2 separate regions of the Homo sapiens genome follow, and region 2 is linked to region 1. The links are contacts of gene promoters, found by promoter capture Hi-C in blood cells and fetal thymus (Javierre and others, 2016). All regions are on one chromosome and are shown on one strand. Each heading gives the region's core, a stretch centred on a gene start or on the middle of the fragment in contact. The rest is flanking DNA. Distances are from core to core; before and after follow the strand shown. Region 1 holds the start of CACNB1 (calcium voltage-gated channel auxiliary subunit beta 1). Region 2 overlaps LASP1 (LIM and SH3 protein 1).

What was found. The method cuts DNA at HindIII sites, captures the fragments that hold promoters and counts their contacts. A CHiCAGO score of 5 or more calls a contact.
Region 2: a fragment that was not itself captured here is called in contact with the fragment with the promoter of CACNB1 in region 1 in 1 of 17 cell types (monocytes); the score reaches 6.2 in monocytes.

Annotation. Positions count from the first base shown.
Region 1 is chr17:39,193,504-39,199,583 of GRCh38, forward strand. CACNB1 (calcium voltage-gated channel auxiliary subunit beta 1) reads right to left here and starts at 4,166. Exons shown (of 14, transcript NM_000723.5): 1 at 3,909-4,166; 2 at 1,381-1,467. The coding sequence starts at 3,992. RefSeq lists silencers at 3,364-3,493, 3,924-4,323, 4,334-4,463. The HindIII fragment of the contact is 8,246 bases long and covers 2,239-6,080 here.
Region 2 is chr17:38,920,425-38,926,504 of GRCh38, forward strand. It overlaps LASP1 (LIM and SH3 protein 1), which reads left to right. Exons shown (of 7, transcript NM_006148.4): 7 at 1-1,346. LASP1NB (LASP1 neighbor) reads left to right here and starts at 5,190. Exons shown (of 2, transcript NM_001414697.1): 1 at 5,190-5,467; 2 at 5,993-6,080. The coding sequence starts at 5,270. The coding sequence ends at 5,347. RefSeq lists an enhancer at 1,575-2,185. The HindIII fragment of the contact is 985 bases long and covers 1,692-2,676 here.

The DNA of each region.
Region 1 (6,080 bases), core at 2,916-5,415:
GCTGGCCTAGGGGGTGGCCCAAACTGCCCGTTCCCTTGGGGGCTCGGGTTACAAGCAGAGTTGCTACATGTGCAGACTGCTAGGGTATATTTAGCTCAGAGATGTGGCAAGGACTGCCCCCCTCCACCACTCCCCACCACCTACCGGGGATCAGAGCTGGGGAGCTAAAAGGAGGAAGAATTGGAGGCTGGGGTCTGACTCCCTGGGTTGGCAAACACTGAAGGAGCCAAGGTCCTTTTCTGCCAAGAGGGGCAATAAAAGCACAGCGTCATTCTTCCCAGCCCTGGCCATGTCCTGCAACAGGAGGGATGAGGGGGTGATTGAAGAAAGGACTTCCTGTCTGTTCCTATACTTAGAAAAGGCTAGAATGAAGCCTCCCCTTCCTGAACCTCCCAAGTCAGACTGAGGCTCACATGTGCCAAGTGCTGTAGAGACAGAAGAAACGGAAAGAAGGGCCTCACTCTAATTAGTGGTGGATCTGCCTGGCATCACCCTCGCTCCTGGCCCAAGGTGGAAGGGAGGGGCTCATCTCCAGAGGACCCCTCCTCTGTGCTGTCTTCTGCCCTCAAATGCCCTGCCCATTTCCTCTTCAATACACGCCTTTTCCTTGTCTAATCCCAAGCCCCTCTCGCCTTTTTTGGGTACCAGGCTTTGGTGAGATGCTAAGTAGTCATAGCAACCACATGCCTCTCTCAGTCCCTCACCCTGAGCCTAAGATGGCCCAGGGTTGACAGATGAGAGCAGCCGCTTACTGACTGAGCACAGAAGACCCCAGAAAGCTATTCTCAGTTACACCCTTTCAGGCAGGGGTGCTGGGCTATCATCTTCTCTATTATAAAATCAACAGCCTCATGCCTCAACCACCCCCACCCCCGTCACCATCACCCTTTCTCTGTGCTTCTTAGACAGTCATGTCTCGAGGTGAGGAGCGTGTTTCCCTGGCCAGGACCTCACCAGGACTACAGGGACCCAAACATCCTTGCTCTGCTTTTCCTAGGACCTGCCTCCACCCAACCCTGTCACAGATTCTGGGGGAGGACATGGAAGCAGACAGCCGGCAGGGGGAGTGGGTGACAGCCCGAAGCAAGCTGGAGGGAGGCAGGCCAGGCTGTCCCTGAATGAGATGACGCAGGCCAGCAGGCAGCAGGGGAGGGTGCCTGGTGCTGGGGGAGGGGCCGGGCAGGGGCGGGGGCTGAGCGAGTGGGTGCCGCTGACAGCACATCCAGAAGAGGTCATGGGGTGTCAGGGTGATGGGGTGGCTCCAGGCAGGTGACAAATGGCACAGGGAAGGGTGCCTGGACAATACCGCAGACCTGGCTCACCAATGCTGGTCTCCACCAACCAGCCACCTCCCTCCTCTCCGCCCAGCCTCCCCATTACCTGGCGGACAAAGCTGTTGGATGTGGTATCCGAGGACGTGCTCCCATCTGACCGTTTGAATCGCCCTTTCCTCTTGCTGTATTTGCCCTGAAGAGGCCAGGAAAGGAACAAGAGTAGAATCAGAAGGGCCCTTTCCCAACCCTCATCTTGCCAGCCCCAGAGCTACAGCCAAGCTTGGGAACAGCACTCCCAGCCCCACCTCCACCCCCCTGCACATTCCTCCTGAGGTGGTACGACCCAAGGGGAGGGAGGGTCTCCCATCCTCACGGAGAGGGCCCAGAGCACAGCCAGGAGTGGGGACCAGTGCAAGAGAGCCCCAGAAGACCCACACGGAAACCACCAAACCAAGCCAGAGAGGCTGGGAAGGGGGGAGGCGCGGAGAAGCTGGAGGCTCATTAGGCAGCAGAGCTAATTAAGATGCTGGGCAGGCTGCAGAGGCCTCCGAGGAAGGGAGAGGCAGCCGGCAGTGCTGGGTGTTGGGTGGGGAGAGCGGGAAAGTCACCCCCACTCCCCCTCCGCAGGAGCAGAGCAGGGCTGTTTGTGTTGGTGGCCCCCAGAGAGGAGGAACTGCCAACCCAGGGCCCAGCCTGGCTTCTCCCCTGTGCCCAACTCTTCCCTTCGCTATTCACAGAGTAGGGAGGGGATGACAGCTCTCTTGGAGACTCAGAGCCAGATTTCTGGGGAGGGAGTAGGGGCATGGAACTGTATTTGGAGAGTAAACATCCAGCCTGATCCCTGGCACCATGGGGGCAAATTTTGCTCCCCACTCTCATCCCTTGCCCAGACAGGACTTTTTCTCAGCTCCCTCTCTCACAATCACAGTAGCTACAATCCTCCCCAAGGGGGCAAGAGGGATCAAGCTTCTACCCTGTGGCCCCCAGCTGCCACTGCCCATGCCCCATGCCCATGGTACCCATCAGGCTACGTCAATCTAAATGTCCCTCGGCCCCGCACCACATGAGCCTAGGACACAGCCCCACAGATCTCTAGGGGGTAAGCTGGCTCAGTCTCAGAGACCGGGTGGAGGAAATACCGCCTGACCATTCAGGAAGCCACACGTTCAGGTTAAGGGCGTCAGGTATTTCCAGTCCTCTTGTAAGAAGAGCTGCTTCTGGCCCTCCCCAGCTTGTACCCACACACACTTGGCCTCAGCCCAGTTCAGAATGGGGAGAGTGAGTGAGGGCTCAGACTTCCAAGTCCCCGCCCTTGGTCTCCATCCTAGACTTTCTTTGGCCAAAGAACCTGGAGGGGCCATGACCAGACTGGGGGCTTTGGCTGCTGGGATCAGGGTACAAGAAAGAGGATGGAAAATGGGAGAGGAGGGCCCCTGGGGACCTTTCCAAGATCCTCCCCTCCCCGCCCTTCTCTCAAACCAGACATATACCCCAACTCAAGTTGTGATGCTCCCTACAAACCTAGGAGGATCACCCAGTGAATCCCAGACACCACCCTCCCCCACCACTGCCAGGCTGGGCAAAGGGAGTGGCACTCAGAGGGACAGGGGACAGCTGAAAGGAAGGCCCCAGTCAGCTGCCTCCCAGGCTCAAAGGGGCCTGGGGTGGAGGAAGGTATTTTTAGGTCTGACTTGACCCCTCTACATACCCATCAGTCACATTATCATGGTGGTTACAGCTGGTGGCCACAGTAACAGAAGAGTTAATGCTATCCTTGGAGAAGGACACTCCCAAAGAAATCCCCTGGCGCGACCATCCCAGAGCCTGCTGGTCACCCCATGAGAACCCACCGCGCCCAAGAATGCCACTTCCTGGGAGTAACCAGGGGTGTAGGAAAAGTGTGCGGGTGGGGATGGAGAAGTAGACCCCTCCCCCAGGTAAAACAGCTTCCCCCCCTCCTATGAGTTGGCATCCATCCAACTTTCCAAACTTTGGAGGCGTTTTTGGGGCGGGGGTGGGGGTGGGGTAAGTCAACGTGGGTGTGGGGGGAGGGGAGCAGGTCCGACATAGAGATGGAGCCCAGGTGGCTGGGAGGGGACCTCGACCGGGGTTGGCTCTTTCCCCACCCTCGAGAACCAGTGTCTGCGGCTTTGAAGGCCTGTTGGCATTTGGCACCGCCCTCTGACCATCGCCTCGGCCACCTCCTCGTGCCACCCCCGCCCCACCCACACCCGCCTGGCGCCCCCGAGCGTGCTCTGCGTCGCCCCCCTTGCCTGGCTCGCTTTCTAGCCTCTTTCAACCTCCCCTTCTCAAGGCCCAGATCCCCCTCCACCAGCACCCCCACGCTCAGCCCACTGAAGCTGGTGCCCAAGCGGCAGGAACCTTGACGCGGGGGAGATAAGGAGGCGAGGGTGACAGGCAGCCCACCCGCCCCCTCCCCGCTCCGCAGCATCGCCACCCAGCCCCAGGCCCAGCGCCCATCAATCACAACCTGCAAGGATGGGGGGCGCGCAGGCATCCCTCTCTCCTCCGCGCCCGGCATATAACCCCTTCCTCTCCCGCGCCTCTCGAGCCGACCTTAACACGGTCCGCGGGAGCGACCCCCTCCCGTTGGGCCGGGCCACCACGCCTCACCTGCGGGCTGGGGTCGAAGACCTCCATGGGGATCTCCTGGGAGGGTGGGTAAGGGCCCCGGGACATGCTGGTCTTCTGGACCATGGAGAGGAGCCTCCCCTCCCGCCGCCGGCCCGGCCCAGCCGGGCTCCCTCAGCGCATGGGAGAGGCCGTGGGAGCCGAAAGCAGCGCGGCGCAGCCAGCACCCGGTCCAGCCACCCAGCTCGGCCTTCGGCTGCCTCCTTCCTGCCTTCCCTCGCTCCTCCCGCTCTCTCCACTGCCGCCGCCGCCTCCCCCGTAGGCTCAGCATCTCCCCGCGCCCCTCCCTCGCTCCCTCCCTCCGCCCGCCCGGCCCCGCCCCTCGCAGCCCCTCCGCCGGCTCGGCGCACACAATGGGCGTGCGGCAGCAGGGAGGCAAGCCCCTCTCGGCTCTAGGTGGCCGCAGGTGGGCCTCTGACTGGCCGTGGGGTGCAGGCGGCCCGCTGGGGCGGGAAGGCAGAAACTAGGCGTGGAACTTGGGGGAGGGGTGGGGGGGCGGTCTACCAGTGGATGCCGAGCGCTGATGGGGATTGGCATGGCTGGCACCACCCCCCTTTTGTCCCAAACCTCTCTTCCTGCGGGTCCCCCCAACCCACTCCTGTTTGGACCACCGGAACTTCCCGGTCCCGGTGATCCTGGGACCTGGCTTTAACTCCTTTCTCCCCAGTGTGGGGCCCAGGCTGCCTCAAACCAAACAGAAAAGCCTCTCCCTCCAACATGGCTCTGGGGCTGCCGGTGGGAGGCTGAGGCTGAGATGGGGAGGGTGTCCAATAGAGACAGCAAAATAAATCCCAGGGGTCCAGGAGTTCTGCCCTAATCAGTCACTAGGATACACCGCCCCCCCAACCCCTGTTCTTCCAAAAGGCCAGGAATGGGGCTGGGTGAGGTCCCTGCTCTTGGATGAGAAAAGAGGAAGAAATATGGAGCTGAGAGAGGAGAAGCTGGTAAAATCAGATCTCATGACCTTTGACCTAGAATTGCGCCACCTTTACCCCTGATTTAGGGAGAAACATCCAAGATCTGGATGCCACCCACCATGACTGGTGGAGAGAAGAGGAATAGGAGATTCTGGGCAATAGACTCTGGCGCCAATTTGGCTCAGGCTGTTTCTGGTTGTATAGCCCCGGACAAATCACCTCTCTGAGCATCAGTTTCCTCCTCTCCTATAAAATGGGGTTGCTGGTACTGTGGAGTCTGTGTCACCTGGTATTATTGGGAGGATGAGGGAGAATTAAATGAATTGCTGGGGTGTTTGGAGAAGCTGTAAGTTTCAATGAAGGGGTCACTCATGACAGGAGGACCCATTCCCTTCCTACTCCACCCCTTCTCCTGCTCCACAGAAAGGAGAGATGGAGAAGACCCTCTCCAGGTCAAGTGACCTTACAATAAGGCCACCACCTTGCTGTGTTCCGCAGGACAGGAGACTATGGGACTCCTCCTCCTCACCCAACTCTAATAGCAAGTGAATGGTCAGTCTGTCATTCCTCTGATCACAACACCTTGGGGAAGGCGGAGCAGTGAGTGAAGATGAAGCCCATTAGAAACGTTCCAGGAGAGTTCCAACCCTGAGCAGGGTTTCCACCTGCCCCTTGGAGACAAGAAAGGCTGGCATAACCGCAAAAGTATGGGCTTTGCAATCAGAAATATCTGTGTTCTGAATCTGTTACCTTAGCTGTAAAATGAGGGCAACGCTAATCGTGTTGTTGTGAGGAAGTAGCATAAATGTTGCTTCCCTTTCTCTCTCTTCTACTTTCTCAGCCAGGAAAGTTGAGATGAAACGGATAGGGTGATCAGCAGGAACCAATCATGAGTTGGAGCCTCAATTCAGATGTAGACTTCTTAAACCCCAGAATGTTCTTCTTGGATTTTTACATTGGGTGTTCCAGATCAGAAGAAAAGGACTGCTTTTTTTTTTTTTTTGAGACGGAGTCTCACTCTGTTGCCCAGGCTGGAGTGCAGTGGCGCAATCTCGGCTCACTGCAACCTCCGCCTCCTGGGTTCAAGCGATTCTCCTGCCTCAGCCTCCCCAGTAGCTGGAATTACAAGCACGCGCCGCTACGCCCGGCTAATTTTTGTATTTTTAGTGGAGACAGGGTTTCACCATGTTGGCCAGGCTGGTCTCGAACTCCTGACCTCAAGTGATCCGCCTGCCTT
Region 2 (6,080 bases), core at 934-3,433, 280 kb before region 1:
TCATGGGTGGCTGTGACAACCCTGGCCTCACTTGATTCATCTCTGGTTTTCTTGCCACCCTCTGGGAGTCCCCATCCCATTTTCATCCTGAGCCCAACCAGGCCCTGCCATTGGCCTCTTGTCCCTTGGCACACTTGTACCCACAGGTGAGGGGCAGGACCTGAAGGTATTGGCCTGTTCAACAATCAGTCATCATGGGTGTTTTTGTCAACTGCTTGTTAATTGATTTGGGGATGTTTGCCCCGAATGAGAGGTTGAGGAAAAGACTGTGGGTGGGGAGGCCCTGCCTGACCCATCCCTTTTCCTTTCTGGCCCCAGCCTAGGTGGAGGCAAGTGGAATATCTTATATTGGGCGATTTGGGGGCTCGGGGAGGCAGAGAATCTCTTGGGAGTCTTGGGTGGCGCTGGTGCATTCTGTTTCCTCTTGATCTCAAAGCACAATGTGGATTTGGGGACCAAAGGTCAGGGACACATCCCCTTAGAGGACCTGAGTTTGGGAGAGTGGTGAGTGGAAGGGAGGAGCAGCAAGAAGCAGCCTGTTTTCACTCAGCTTAATTCTCCTTCCCAGATAAGGCAAGCCAGTCATGGAATCTTGCTGCAGGCCCTCCCTCTACTCTTCCTGTCCTAAAAATAGGGGCCGTTTTCTTACACACCCCCAGAGAGAGGAGGGACTGTCACACTGGTGCTGAGTGACCGGGGGCTGCTGGGCGTCTGTTCTTTACCAAAACCATCCATCCCTAGAAGAGCACAGAGCCCTGAGGGGCTGGGCTGGGCTGGGCTGAGCCCCTGGTCTTCTCTACAGTTCACAGAGGTCTTTCAGCTCATTTAATCCCAGGAAAGAGGCATCAAAGCTAGAATGTGAATATAACTTTTGTGGACCAATACTAAGAATAACAAGAAGCCCAGTGGTGAGGAAAGTGCGTTCTCCCAGCACTGCCTCCTGTTTTCTCCCTCTCATGTCCCTCCAGGGAAAATGACTTTATTGCTTAATTTCTGCCTTTCCCCCCTCACACATGCACTTTTGGGCCTTTTTTTATAGCTGGAAAAAACAAAATACCACCCTACAAACCTGTATTTAAAAAGAAACAGAAATGACCACGTGAAATTTGCCTCTGTCCAAACATTTCATCCGTGTGTATGTGTATGTGTGTGAGTGTGTGAAGCCGCCAGTTCATCTTTTTATATGGGGTTGTTGTCTCATTTTGGTCTGTTTTGGTCCCCTCCCTCGTGGGCTTGTGCTCGGGATCAAACCTTTCTGGCCTGTTATGATTCTGAACATTTGACTTGAACCACAAGTGAATCTTTCTCCTGGTGACTCAAATAAAAGTATAATTTTTACCTGCGGACTTGGTTTCCTCTCTGGCTCTGAGCTGCTGTTGTGTGTGTCTGTGTGTGGGTGTGTGTCTCTAGCTGTAAGGTGCTGCTGTGTGTGTGTGTGTCTAGCTGTAAGGTGCCACTGTGTGTGTGTGTGTGTGTGTGTCCTGTCTGCTTGGGGGCACTGGCCTGTGGCCCTCCTGGGACCTCTGCTGCCCCTCGGGGAGAGAATGACTTGTCTGGATGCCAAGGGGGAGTTTGCTGCTGTCTGTCAGGCCCTTGGCCCCTACTTCCTCCTTGCTGAGAACTCCCCACCAACCTACTTCTGGCTTTCCACCCGCTCATTCCTCTCTGCCCAACTTGGTGATGCTCCCGGAAGCTTCCCTGAGCTCCGTCTCGTATTACTGTGTCACTTCCTCAGTGACATATCTGTCTCCCCACTAGCCAGAGCCCTTGGGGCAGGTGATGAGTCTAATTCATCTCTAAATCCCGGGTACCTGCCCAGGAGCGGTGCGGAGCTGTTGAATTAATGAATGAGCTTGGCTGGGGAGCAGTTCTAGCACTCTGCCGCTGCCAGGCAGAGAGCAGGAGCTCCACGCATTTGAGGAACGAGATGACAGGGCATTCCACAGTGGGACGGGACCTGGATAAAGCTGTCTGTAAGGTGGCCTGGCAACCCAAAGCACTATTCACAGTGCCTTCTGAATGTAATCTTTAATACACATCCCCTTTCTTCCTTCTTCCTCACAACCCTGTGAGAGAAGTAACTACTTATAGAGGGGCTCACTGAAACCCAGAAAGGCAAAGCAGATTGGTGGCAGTCACAGCTAGTGGCAGAGTGGGGCCTGAGACCCCCATGTGATGCTCACAGTCTGGTGCTGTGCCACCCGGCCATGGCAGGCCGCGTGCCTGTGTCTGTGGCAGCTCTTAGATGTGTGTCTCCTGGGCTCCATGTTTTGCTCCAGGTGCCCAGGGTCTGTGACTGGCCAGAAGGCCAGGCGGCCTCCCCTCTTGCTCATTGGGCTTGGGAAGAGGACAGTGGTAGAGAGGGGAATCTGGCCCTGCTCAGTGCTGCCAATCAGCCTCAGGTCCAGCTGCTTGAGGGGCATTTCTCTCTTGGGGCTCAGAACTAAGGAATTCTCCAGCCTCAGAATCACAGCAGGGTGGAGAGGAGGAGGGCTCTCCTGAGCTGAGCATTTGTAATCTGGAGAATGACATGGCCAGAGTCAGCTGAGCTGGGGCAATGTGGGGAGCATCCAAGGCTGCCCTGGGTGGTATAATTAGAGACAGCACTGACACCTGCTCCCCTCCAGGGGTGCAGGCAGCCCAATACTTTCCCAATAGAAGGGAATTAGTTGGCAAAGCTTGCCTCATGTCGGCCTGCCCCACTCCCCGGGAGGCTTCATTCACCTTCAGATCTATTTGATGGAACAGTGCTTTGGGGGACATTGCTGCCAAGTCTCCACTCCCTGCTCACAGAAAGCTCTGCCTCCTGGAAATGGGCCAATGGGAGGAGTTTCTGGATTTCCTTCTGGCAGTGGCCTAAGTTCCTGAGGTCTTGCATTATGAGGGGGTTACCAATATATCTTAACCCCAGGCCTTTAAAAAAAATATTATTTGGGGTGGGGGCCAAGGAGACTAGGCCTCAGAGACGTCCTAGGGAATGATTTAATTTAATAGAAAATAATTGAGGCTTATAAAAAGGCACAAAAATCCTGGCTAACACAGTGAAACCCCGTCTATACTAAAAATACAAAAAATAAGCTGGGCGCGGTGGCGGGTGCCTGTAGTCCCAGCTACTCGGGAGGCTGAGGCAGGAGAATGGCGTGAACCCGGGAGGCAGAGCTTGCACTGAGCTGAGATCGTGCCACTGCACTCCAGCCTGGGTGACAGAGCAAGACTCCGTCTAAGAATAAATAAATAAATAAATAAATAAATAAATAAATAAATAAATAAAAAGAATAAAATAATTCTCTTTTCCCCCTCAGAAGAAACCACTTGAATTTTTTAAATTTCAGGGATACCCCTGGGGAATTCTTCAGTGTCCTCTCTGTGTACAACACTATGCTGAGCTTTTGGAAGAGGATACCAAAGAAAACAAAACTAGGCCGGGTGCGGTGGTTCACACCTGCAATCCCAGCACTTTGGGAGGCTGAGGTGGGAGGATCGCTTGAGTCCAGGAGTTTGAGACCAGCCTGGGCAAAATGGCAAGACCCCGTCTCTATAAAAAAAGAAAGAAGGAAAACAAAACAGTGGGTAATGACTGCAAAGAGACGAAGGAGTGGGTGGAGGAGGGGTCTCTGGTGCTCGTCCTGTAGGTGGATCGATGTGAAAGCAGTCCACTGCAAGCTGAGCAGTGCACGTGGGGTGTAGGGGCCTTCCGGACCAACAGGGGGAGCAGTGTGGCGCAAGAGGAAGAATATGGACTTTGGTGTCAGCATGCCTAGTTTTGAATCCTGGTCTCTGACATTTTTAATTAATTAATTAATTATTTTGAGACGGAGTTTCACTCTTGTTGCCCAGGCTGGAGTGCAATGGCACAATCTCAGCTCACTGCAACCTCCACCTCCCAGGTTCAAGCGATTCTCCTGCCTCAGCCTCCTGAGTAGCTGGGATTACAGGCATGTGCCACCATGCCCAGCTAATTTTGTATTTTTAGTAGAGCTGGAGTTTCTCCATGTTGGTCAGGCTGGTCTTGAACTCCTGACCTCAGGTGATTCACCTACCTCAGCCTCCCAAAGTGTTGGGATTACAGGCATGAGCCACCACACCCAGCCTTTTACTTTTTATTTTATTTATTAATTTATTTATTTTTGAGACGGAGTCTCGCTCTGTCACCCAGGCTGGAGTGCAATGGCACGGTCTCAGCTCACTGCGACCTCTGCCTGCCGGGTTCAAGCAATTCTTTAGCCTCAGCCTCTTGAATAGCTGGGATAACAGGCACCTGCCACCACGCCCGGCTAATTTTTATTTTTATTTTTTTTTTGAGACAGAATCTTGCTCTGTAGCCCAGGCTGGGGTGCAGTGGCGCGATCTCAGCTCTGCCTCCCGGGTTCAAGCAATTCTCTGCCTCAGCCTCCCAAGTAGCTGGGATTACAGGCATGCACCACCAAGCCTGGCTAACTTTTGTATTTTTAGTAGAGACAGGGTTTCACCATCTTGGCCAGGCTGGTCTTGAACTCCTGACCTTGTGATCCACCTGCCTCGGCCTCCCAAAGTGCTGGGATTATAGGCATGAGCCACTGCGCCCGGCTGGTCTCTGACACATCTAAGCTATGAACCATTAGGGTAAGTTTCTGACCATCTCTGAGCCCCATCTATGAAAGACTCATAGGGAGGTTGAAATTGCACCACATGTACGATATCTGGCCCAGTGTAGGAAATGTATAAATGTTAGCTTCATCCCTCAGGGAAGCCCACTGAGATCCACACGAAACTTTTGTCTGTGTCTCCCCATAATGTGACCTTTAGAAGTTGCCAATGGCCCACCCAATACCCAACCATGATTTTTCTGAGATAATCTGCCCGAGGTGTGTGAGAGGAAACGCGAAGAAGGCAGTCAGGAGGATTCACTCTTGGGGGAGCTGGGTAGGATCCTATCTCCTCCTACATCCAGAGCATGCAGGCTCCATTTAGATACAAAGGGGTGGGATTGGGTTCCTGGGGAGAAATTGAGCCCCTTTGATTCTGCGGTTCTGTGGGTCTAAATCTGGCATCTCCTTGGCTATCCACCCCCAGGCTTTGTGATTGGTTGGCTGTGGTTGGTGGGGGGGCAGGAAGCTGCTGGTGGAGCTGCAGCATCCTTCAGTCTCAGGCCCCTGGGAGGGGGAGGGGAAAGAACCAGGGCTGAGCTGTGGAGTGAAGGGGAGCCATTTCTCTCCACCGACTGCAACCTCCGTGCTCACAGCTCACGGTTCACCAGAATCCAGGGGCTTGGTCGGCCTAGGAATCCACAATGCTGGATATTTTCATCCTGATGTTCTTTGCCATCATAGGCCTGGTCATTCTGTCCTACATTATCTATCTGCTCTAGTGGCCTGGAGCTGCGGCCGGAGCCTGCTGGAGAACAGCTCAGAAGGAAGGATGGAGATGAATGGCCGAGTGCCCTGCTTGCTGACGCACCGGTGGATTTTTGCTTCTGCTGTTATCTCGGGTATTGATTCCAAAAAAAAAAGAAAAGAAAAAAAGAAAGAGTTTGCTTTCCTATTTTTTTTCTTAGACCACTCTGAAAAGAATAAGAAATGCCAGCTTCTTTCTTTGGGACCTAATTTAAAATAAGACTTTAAAAATTACAAATAAAATCCACAATGTAAACGATTTTTAGGCAGAACGGGTTGGGAATGATGGATGTGGTGGGGAGGGACTATTATTTCCTAATTTCTTCTTCAAGTTAGGTGCTCAAACTCAAGTTGTCTATTTTCTTCTGGTAATTAAAGGTAAAACACATCTTTGCATGTCAGCATACTTGCAATATAGTTGTTTACAACTATGCTTGTATAATTGCATTACTTAATGATTGACTCATTCTTATTTGAGGGTGAGACGGCAAATAAATTTTACTTGGGGTGGGGTTTTCGGGGAGATGTCCAACTGTGGGATATGGTGGAGAGGAGGGAGGAACTCCTGGTACTTTGCAGTTGTCCCCATCTGAGACTTTTTATTTCTGGGTTTCTTACAGCTCCTGGTCTCTCCAGTCCAACAAGAGGCCTCTCATCCACAGAAGCAGTCCTACTGCCCAGCAGACCTCTTTCAGAGCCTTCCAGACA